Regions from separate parts of the Homo sapiens genome. Here regions 1 and 3 are each linked to region 2. The links are contacts of gene promoters, found by promoter capture Hi-C in blood cells and fetal thymus (Javierre and others, 2016). All regions are on one chromosome and are shown on one strand. Each heading gives the region's core, a stretch centred on a gene start or on the middle of the fragment in contact. The rest is flanking DNA. Distances are from core to core; before and after follow the strand shown.

What was found. Contacts are between HindIII fragments. The CHiCAGO score rates a contact against its expected background, and 5 or more counts as called.
Region 1: a contact is called between a fragment that was not itself captured here and the fragment with the promoter of DEFB134 in region 2, in 1 of 17 cell types (monocytes). The highest score is 5.9, in monocytes.
Region 3: a fragment that was not itself captured here is called in contact with the fragment with the promoter of DEFB134 in region 2 in 7 of 17 cell types (M2 macrophages, total B cells, naive B cells and 4 more); the score reaches 9.3 in M2 macrophages.

Annotation. Positions count from the first base shown.
Region 1 is chr8:11,416,401-11,419,222 of GRCh38, reverse strand. The region is part of intron 3 of FAM167A-AS1 (FAM167A antisense RNA 1); the gene reads right to left. Among named protein-coding and RNA genes, the nearest start is that of FAM167A, 49 kb to the left of the region's middle. RefSeq lists enhancers at 1,054-1,123, 1,732-2,231, 2,155-2,384, 2,232-2,733. The HindIII fragment of the contact is 5,187 bases long and covers 1-2,822 here.
Region 2 is chr8:11,999,371-12,002,071 of GRCh38, reverse strand. DEFB134 (defensin beta 134) reads left to right here and starts at 1,320. Exons shown (of 3, transcript NM_001302695.2): 1 at 1,320-1,364. It also overlaps the pseudogene OR7E160P and the pseudogene LOC100421446. The HindIII fragment of the contact is 7,293 bases long and covers 1-2,701 here.
Region 3 is chr8:11,396,327-11,399,181 of GRCh38, reverse strand. All of the region lies in intron 2 of FAM167A-AS1 (FAM167A antisense RNA 1), which reads right to left. Among named protein-coding and RNA genes, the nearest start is that of FAM167A-AS1, 29 kb to the right of the region's middle. The HindIII fragment of the contact is 5,030 bases long and covers 1-2,855 here.

The sequences.
Region 1 (2,822 bases), core at 181-2,680, 580 kb after region 2:
GATTGAAACAAGCTAACTAACATATCCATCACCTCAAATGCTCATTATTTATTCCTCCTGCCTAACTGAAACCCTGAACCCTTGGACCAGCACATCCCCACGCCCTGCTCCCAGCCTCAAGTCCCCTATTCTGCTCTCTGCCTCTGTGAGTTAGCTTGCTTTCGAGTCTATGTGGAAGAGTGAACATGCAGTCTGGGTACCCTGACATTTAAATATCTGACAGAGAAAGAGGCATGGTCAAAGGGTACTTAGGAAAAAAAGGTAGCTGTAGACCAAGCTACTCGGGAGGCTAAGGTGGCAGGATCACCTGAGCCCAGGAGGTTAAGGCTGCAGTGAGCTGAGATTGCTCCACCGCACTTCCAGCCTGGACAACAGAAGGAGACCTTGTCTCAAAAAACAAACAAAAAGAAAACTAAAAACAAAGCAAAACAAAAAATCCAGCTAGTAAGGTAGAAGGAAAAGCAGCTGGACAGGGCATCCGGCAGCCTTCAGGAAGAAACTGTTTGAAGGAGAGAGTCGTCTACACCAGCGCTGCTAAGACATCAAGGAAGAAGAGGACAGAGAGGTGGATGCTGGCTTCAGCAAGAGGGAGCCCCTCCTCCACCGTGATGGCAGTGATGGGGGAGATGGCCATCTCAGCTCAGTGGTAAGGCCAGGGTTGAGGAGGAGGCAGGAGATAAAGGCCACCTTGCTGCATCCATGTGCCATAAAGGGAGCAGAGACAAGGAGCTGGACAAGGACATAGATAAGGTCCAGAAAGTGGCTTGTGGTTTTCTCATAACGTCGTATAATATAATGAAGGTGTTGTCATGTGAGATAGGTCAGTGCCTGCTGAAAGAGAGACGATGTGCACAGGAAAGAGGGCAGCCACAGCACTTGCAGCTCTGGAGGAGGGGAGAGAACCCCCGGCAGAGTGCGAGTGGAGACCCGGCTCAGAGAACAGGACCAGGCACTTCCTCCTTGAGGCAAGAAGGCAGGGTGCAGCTAAAGGGGTGCCCGTTACTGTCAGGGACATTGGAACCAGGGCGACTGCGGCTCAAACAGGCTGGGGGAAATGAGGCTGAGACCTGCTGGGCTGCATCCCCAGGAAGTTAGGCATTCTTAGCCACAGGATGAGATCGGAGGTCGGCACAAGACACAGGTCACAAAGCCCCCGTAGATAAAACAGGATGTGGTGAAGAAGCCAGCCAAGACCCACCAAAACCAAGAAGGCAATGAAAGTGACCTCTGGTCGACCTCACTGCTTATTATTTGCTAATTATAATGCATTAGCTGCTAAAAGACACGCCTACCAGCCCCGTGACAGTTTACAAATGCCACAGGCAAAGGCCAGAAGTTACCCTACATGGTCTAAAAAGGGCAGGAACCCTCTGTTCCATTCCAGGATTTCCCCACCCCTTTCCCAGAAAATCCATGAATAATCTATCCCTTGTTTAGCATATGATCAAGAAATAACTAGAAATATGCCCATTCAAGCAGCCCCCGCCTGTGGAGCAGCCATTCTTTTCTTTCTTTCTTCATAAATGTGCTTTCACTTTACTCTGTGGATTCACCCCAAATTCTCTCTTGTGCGAGATCCAAGAACCCTCCCTTGGGGTCTGGATCAGGACCCCTTTTCAATAACAAATCAGTGGCACAGAGGAAGGGAGCCCGTGAGGTCGCTCCTATTTGTCTGTGAAATAGGGAAGTGAGTCGGAGGAGGTGGGATATTGGAGGTTTGCAAAGACATTTTTCAAATAATTACCTGAGAACGGGTGAGTTAATTAGGAAAGCGAAGATGGACCGTCTGGTCTGGTGGCGGGATTGCCCATTTGAGGCTGTGGTCATAAATGTGGGGTGTGTCCAGCAAGCCTGGTGGAGTGATTGATTTTTTCAGCAATATTTAGAAGTTCCAATACAGACAAAGACCAGGCAGACAGTGGGAGATAGGATTTGCCAAGCAGGTGACAGAGAACGGAAACAGCAAAAGTGAATGTTTTTTGCAAAGGAGCAATGTTAGTGTTAGACTGAGTCAGGAGGGAAGGACGACGAGAGGAAACGGGCCGGGAGAGCCAACGGAGCTGGAGGTAGGTGCATGGCCAGTGGTCTCCACGTGACCTGGGGGTTGCTAGGGTGAGTCCAGGAGAGATCAAGACTGAACAGGTGGAGACCAGAGTATGGGGAGAGGGGGAGCGACAGTTCAGATGTGGTGTGGCTTCTTCATTCAGAGACTCGGCCTGCTGCCACATTAGCTGCTGGTGCCCTGCTGAGCGTGGCCAGGTGCCCTGACCCATGGCTGGTGACGTCAAACTGTGGCTTCCTTGGCCTCCCAGAGATCTCGTCTCTCTTATGTTTGGAAAGGGTGTAAACTCCGTTTACACACACCCTTTTGACTTCTCAACAAGACCAGAAGCACTTCCCACTGGCTCCTTCTCCATGTCTAAGCCTGAAGTCTGTGGCCTAGACGACTTGGGGAAGGAGGCAGGCAGAAGAGGAGGAAGTTGGCAGTGACCAGAGCAGACAGGCCTGTGGTAACCAGACCCTATCTGATGGGAGCTGCTCAGCAGATTGAAGGTTTCAGACAGGGCTGTTTTTAAGTACCCCGTTCACAGGCTCAAAGCAAACAGCAAGGGAGACAGCTAGGCGGTCTCCAAAGGAAATTGATTAAGGAAGAGAAACCTCAGATGCGTTGGAACATTTATCATTTCTTTGAGGATACATGCTTGACGTGATGGATATTAATTACCCTGATTTGATCACTAGACACGGAATGCACAGAAACATCACTATATACCCCATAAATATGTACAATTATTATACATCAATTTTTTAAAAATTAAAAG
Region 2 (2,701 bases), core at 71-2,570:
CATTGTTGCTGTGGAAGCTGGTACCAAGTGTTTCTGATGCCTTGGCCCTTTGCGTCCCAAGACGTCTGTGAAAGAAAAGAAAGAAAGAAAAGAAAGAGAGAGAGAGAGAGAAAGAAAGAAAGAAAGAAAGAAAGAAAGAAAGAAAGAAAGAAAGAAAGAAAGAAAGAAAGAGAAAGAAAAAGAAAGAGAGAGAGAAAGAAAGAAAGAAAAAGAAAGAGAGAGAGAAAGAAAGAAAGATTCTTTAGCTTTTTCAGTGTCACTTCCTTACCATAGGTTCTAGCTCCCCAGGCCCTGGCATCTACTAATTCTTCCTGGCTGGCCCAGACTAGATTCAAAGTAGAATTTTTGCTATATTTCAGAACCCCTTTGTCCCAGGAGACAATATAGAAGAGTGGTTAATTAATTTGGGTTCTAGAATCTCTGTAAGACTTATCAGTCCCAGATGTGTGATTTTAGAAGAATTACTCAAATCTCTGCTTCAACATCTTGAAAATGTGAATTGTGAAAATGTCTAGTTAAGAGATCATTTGTAAGATTAAGTGAGGCAATATTAAAAAAAATACATACTACAATCCTTGATGCCTAAAAGTGCTCCAAATACCAGCTGTTAGGAATATATCTGCAGTAGTTCCCCACCCAGCCACAGTTCTAGTTACTTACAGTCAACCACAGTCCAAAATATTAAATACGCTGGGTGCAGTGGCTCATGCCTGTAATCCCAGCGCTTTGGGAGACCAAGGTGGGTGGATCACCTGAGGGCAGGGGTTCGAGACCAGCCTGGCCAACATGGTGAAACCCCGTCTCTACTAAAAATACTAAAATCAGCCAGGTGTGGTGGCAGGTGCCTGTAATCTCAGCTACTCAGGAGGCTGAGGCAGGAGAATCACTTGAACCTGGGAGGCAGAGGTTGCAGTGAGCCAAGATCACGCCACTGCACTCCAGCCTGGGTGACAGAGCAAGCCTCCATCTCAAAATAAATAAATAAATAAACACAAAATTCCATAAATAAACAATTCATAAGTTTTAAATTGCATGCTGTTCTGAGTAACACAAAATCTTGCACTACGCAGCTCCACACACCCAGAATGTGAATCATCCCTTTGTCCAGTGTATCCACACTGTAAACACTACCTGCCCATTAGTTATTGAAATCATATGCTTCTGAGATCCAGCCACTAACATCACCATGGCTCAGTGACCCAGCATCACCCGAAGGAGATGATCCCCCTTCTGAGCTATGGTCAGAAGATTAGCAATAGCCTAATGCTATGTCACAATGCCTATGTCGTTTTCCTCACTTCCTCTCATCACATAGGCATTATATCATCTTACATCAGCACAAGAAGAAGAGTGAGCATAGCACAGTAAGATATTTTGGGGGAGACAGAGTTCACATTCACATAACTTTTATAGTATTGTTATGATAGCATATTGTTATAATTGTTTTATTATTAGTTATTGTTATTAAAATCTTACTGTGCCAAATTTATAAATTTAACTTTATCATAGGTCTGCATGTATAGAAAAAAAGCACTGTATATATAGAGTTCAGTATTATCGACTGTTTCAAGCATCTACTGGGGGTCTTGGAACATAGCCCCATGAATAAGGAATAACTACTATATATTGTAAAGTTAAAGTATAAACCTAATATCTAGAGTTCATTTATTTATTCAACAAATATACCTTTGGCACTGATGGCCTGCTAGACTTTCAGCCCAATACTGGTGTAAAATGATAAATAAGACAGTCATGGAATCTACTCGGATTTCACAGTCTAATCAGAGACACAAATAATTGATATAGTAACAATTGTGACAAGTGCTATGAAAAAAAAAGGAATGGGTGCTGTAAAATTTGTAATGGGAAAGAGGACCATCTCTTCACAGAGGATACAGAAGCTGCTTCCTTCTGCATCTCCCACTGTTGGCTAGAATACATTTCTGTTTATTAGGATTGTCATTTGGAAAGGCTGCATATTGAATCTGTATGGCTCAGGGTCAGACAGGGACATTTCAATTGCAGCTGAGAGTATGGCAGTTGCAGAACAACCACAGATCAGGAAGATGAGAAGAGTAGCATGATGACCCTAAAGAAATACCAAACCCAGGAGGCAGAAGAAAGAGCCATCTAGTCCTAGCGTGGAGCATATTGTACTTCTCCATTTTCTAATCCCAGAGCACCATGTGGCCTTAGGGGAATATATGGATGAAAAGAAAAAGCTGGTGTGCTGGTAAGCCACATACTTGTTTTCAAATGATGCGCACATCTCCCCTCTTTATCTCTAAAGTCTATGAACTAGGTCAGCTCCCAACTCGTGGCACCTACAGTGAACCAGACGCTGAGCCAGGGGAGGTCTAGATAACAAGAGACGATCTCTGACAGTTGCTGAAATTCTTCTTTACCTTTTAGAGCAAAACTCAGAGGCTGTCCTGTTCTGATATTTAAGTAAAATCACGAATTGCTGGTAGTTGGTGACCTAGTCAGTGAACGAGCTCCTTATCAATAGTGGGAGAATGATAGTAATAGTCCGTTCTGGGGAAAAGAATTTGGCACTGTAATGGTCTTGGGGTTTTTTAACTTTGGCTTTGTAAGCAACATTATTTTTGCTTGGGTTAAAGCCTCTTCCAGCTGTTTATCAACATAGATAAAAGTATATTGCTTTATTATTTCTCCTTGAGTCATATTCAACACTTTCTTT
Region 3 (2,855 bases), core at 309-2,808, 600 kb after region 2:
CCTCCAACTCCAGCCCCGTGATCACTGGAACTTTAGGCCACTACCCTCCATAGAGGACTCTTGCTGGACTCCAGGTCGACTAAAAAACCTGAGGCTGGCCGGGCGAGGTGGCTCACGCCTGTAATCCCAGCACTTTGGGAGGCCAAGGCGGGCGGATCACAAGGTCAGGAGATCGAGACCACAGTGAAACCTCGTCTCTACTAAAAATACAAAAAATTAGCCAGGCGCGGTGACACCCTCCTGTAGTCCCAGCTACTCGGGAGGCTGAGACAGGAGAATGGCATGAACTCGGGAGGCGGAGCTTGCAGTGAGCTGAGATGGCACCACTGCACTCCATCCTGGGCGACAGAGCGAGACTCCGTCTCCAAAAAAAAAAAAAAAAAAAAAAAAACCTGAGGCTGAAAAGAGGAGAAATGGTTACTGGGAAACAAGAAATGGATGTTTCGTCCACTCATTTGGACTTTGGAAACATTTAGACAACTGCTAAATATCTCCTCAGTCACTAGCCTAAAATTTAGTCCACAGCCTCTATAAGAAAAACCTCTGAAAATAGGCAAATACGCTCCCAAATTCCTTTTTTGGAAGAAAAAAAAAAAACCCTTGCATTATTTTTCTGTGCCTTTGAGATGATTCCCTATCCTGTCTTCTCTAAAACCTGAGAACTATCATTTGGAAATACAAACTTCAGGGAAATGACTGTCATGTTTTTTAAAGGAACTATTTGGGAATTGGGCAAATAAAAATCTCAAGTCTTTTCCACAAACGTTGGTAAAAAAGCTCTTGCCATGTAAGCAGGTAAACTTAACTTCTCCCATCTTTGTCAGAAACACAATTCGGACAAAAATATAAATTGGAAATAAATCAATGAGTTTGTACTACTATGTTTTACTGACTTGTGACTAAATGTTAGAATGAAAGCTGTATTTGTCTGTAAGTTTATGTATGTATATTTGTATATTATGTATATTTAATATTTTTCCACCTCCGGATAGTGTTACTAAATTAATTTATAAAACCCTTAAAGGAGCTCTATTCAAATTGGCTTAGAGATAAACGAGTGCTCAGATAAATTAGGCATTCCTAAAACTCTCAGACATAGACTCTCATCCAAATTTTTTTTTTAAAAAATCACATGACTTGGCTAAGTCTTTGGTAAATAAAGCTAGCTTTTAAATTATTGGTAAAATAAAAGTAGGGGTATCTTCAGAATTGTAAGTGTGAAATATAATTCAGATACACATTTTTCCCTGAGTTTGCTGGCCACACAGGTTTGTGTTTTCCCTGCTTGACGTTTAAAAACATAAAACTAAAAACCCAACCTAAGAGCAGAACACACAGTAAAAATAAATTGCTTGACACATATCATTCATGAAAGTAAAAACATAGATAGATAGATAGATAGATAGATAGATAGATAGATAGATAGATAGATAGAGAATGAATTGTTTAGCTTTTTAGTTCTTTGCCTCTGTGATATTTTTGATACCTGATTTGTAAACAAAAATGAAATAAGATGATGGCTTTAAGTTCTTATAAAAAATGCCCATGAGACATCCAAGAATAATTGTTAAAAACACGTGAATTAAATAATGTACAAGTGACCTAAAAGTATATACATGAACTTTTCAATAATAATTATGTTTTATAAAACAGGTCTACTTAAAAATAGTTTCAGAAAACTTTTTTGGTAACTTGCAACCTTAAAGCTATGCTAAATTAAATTAAGTAATAAATACTCATTACATATCTGAGTCATTTCTTTTTCTTTTTTTTTCCCCCCGAGACTGAGTCTCACTGTTGCCCAAGCTGGAGTGCAATAATGCGATCTCGGCTCACTACAACCTCTGCCTTCTGGGTTCAAGTGATTCTCCTGCCTCAGCCTCCTGAGTAGCTGAGATTATAGGTGTGCGCTACCACACCCAGCTAATTTTTGTACTTTTAGTAGACACGGGGTTTCACCATGTTGGTCAGGGTGGTCTCAAACTCCTGACCTCATGATCCACCCGCCTGGGCCTCCCAAAGTGCTGGGATAACAGGTGTGAGCCACCGTGCCTGGCCATATCTGAGTCATTTCTAAGTCACTTAAAACATTGAAACATTAATTACTAAGCATAAATTTAAGTTTATATACATTGGCATTTTGTTTTTTATATGGTATAGAGAAGACAAAATTTGGATCTGTTAATAGACATGAAAAATTGTACTATGGAGAAGCACATGATTTTTAGAAATTATGGCTTTAATCTATGGAATGTGATAAACTACAATTGCTGAAGATTAAAATTCTAATTAATATATGTAATTAAAACTACTAGAAATAATAAGGGAAACAATCCTGTATGCAAAATACACGAGGAAAGCAAGATGTATTTTTGGTAAGGAAAATTGTAAGGCATGAAACTGTATTTTCTGTTAATGGAAAAAGGAGTAGTTAATTCTGTACGAAACTATGATGAGCAGTTGTTCCAGAATAAGAAAAAGAAAAATGCAGGAAGATAAATAAAGATCAATTTTTAAAAATATTTTAAAAGGGTTGTGGAAAAAGAATCTTTGGGGGAAAATGTTATGTGGTCAAAGCTGGCTAAAATGAGCTTAATTTTATTTATAAGGTTTTCTTACAATTAGCTTCCATATTACTAATACGATGATGCAAAACTAGAATTTCGTCCTCTTTGTCAAAATGGCCAAGTTTTCTTACTGTATCAGTCTGAGAATGTGAAGATTTTTCTTTATCGTTTAAGTTACTGTACTAGGACACAAAGATTTTTTTACAAAAATGATTTCTTGTGCTTCACGTTGTTTTCTATCAGGTCTTTGATTACTTAAGAAAAGCAAGGCCAGGTGCAGTGGCTCAC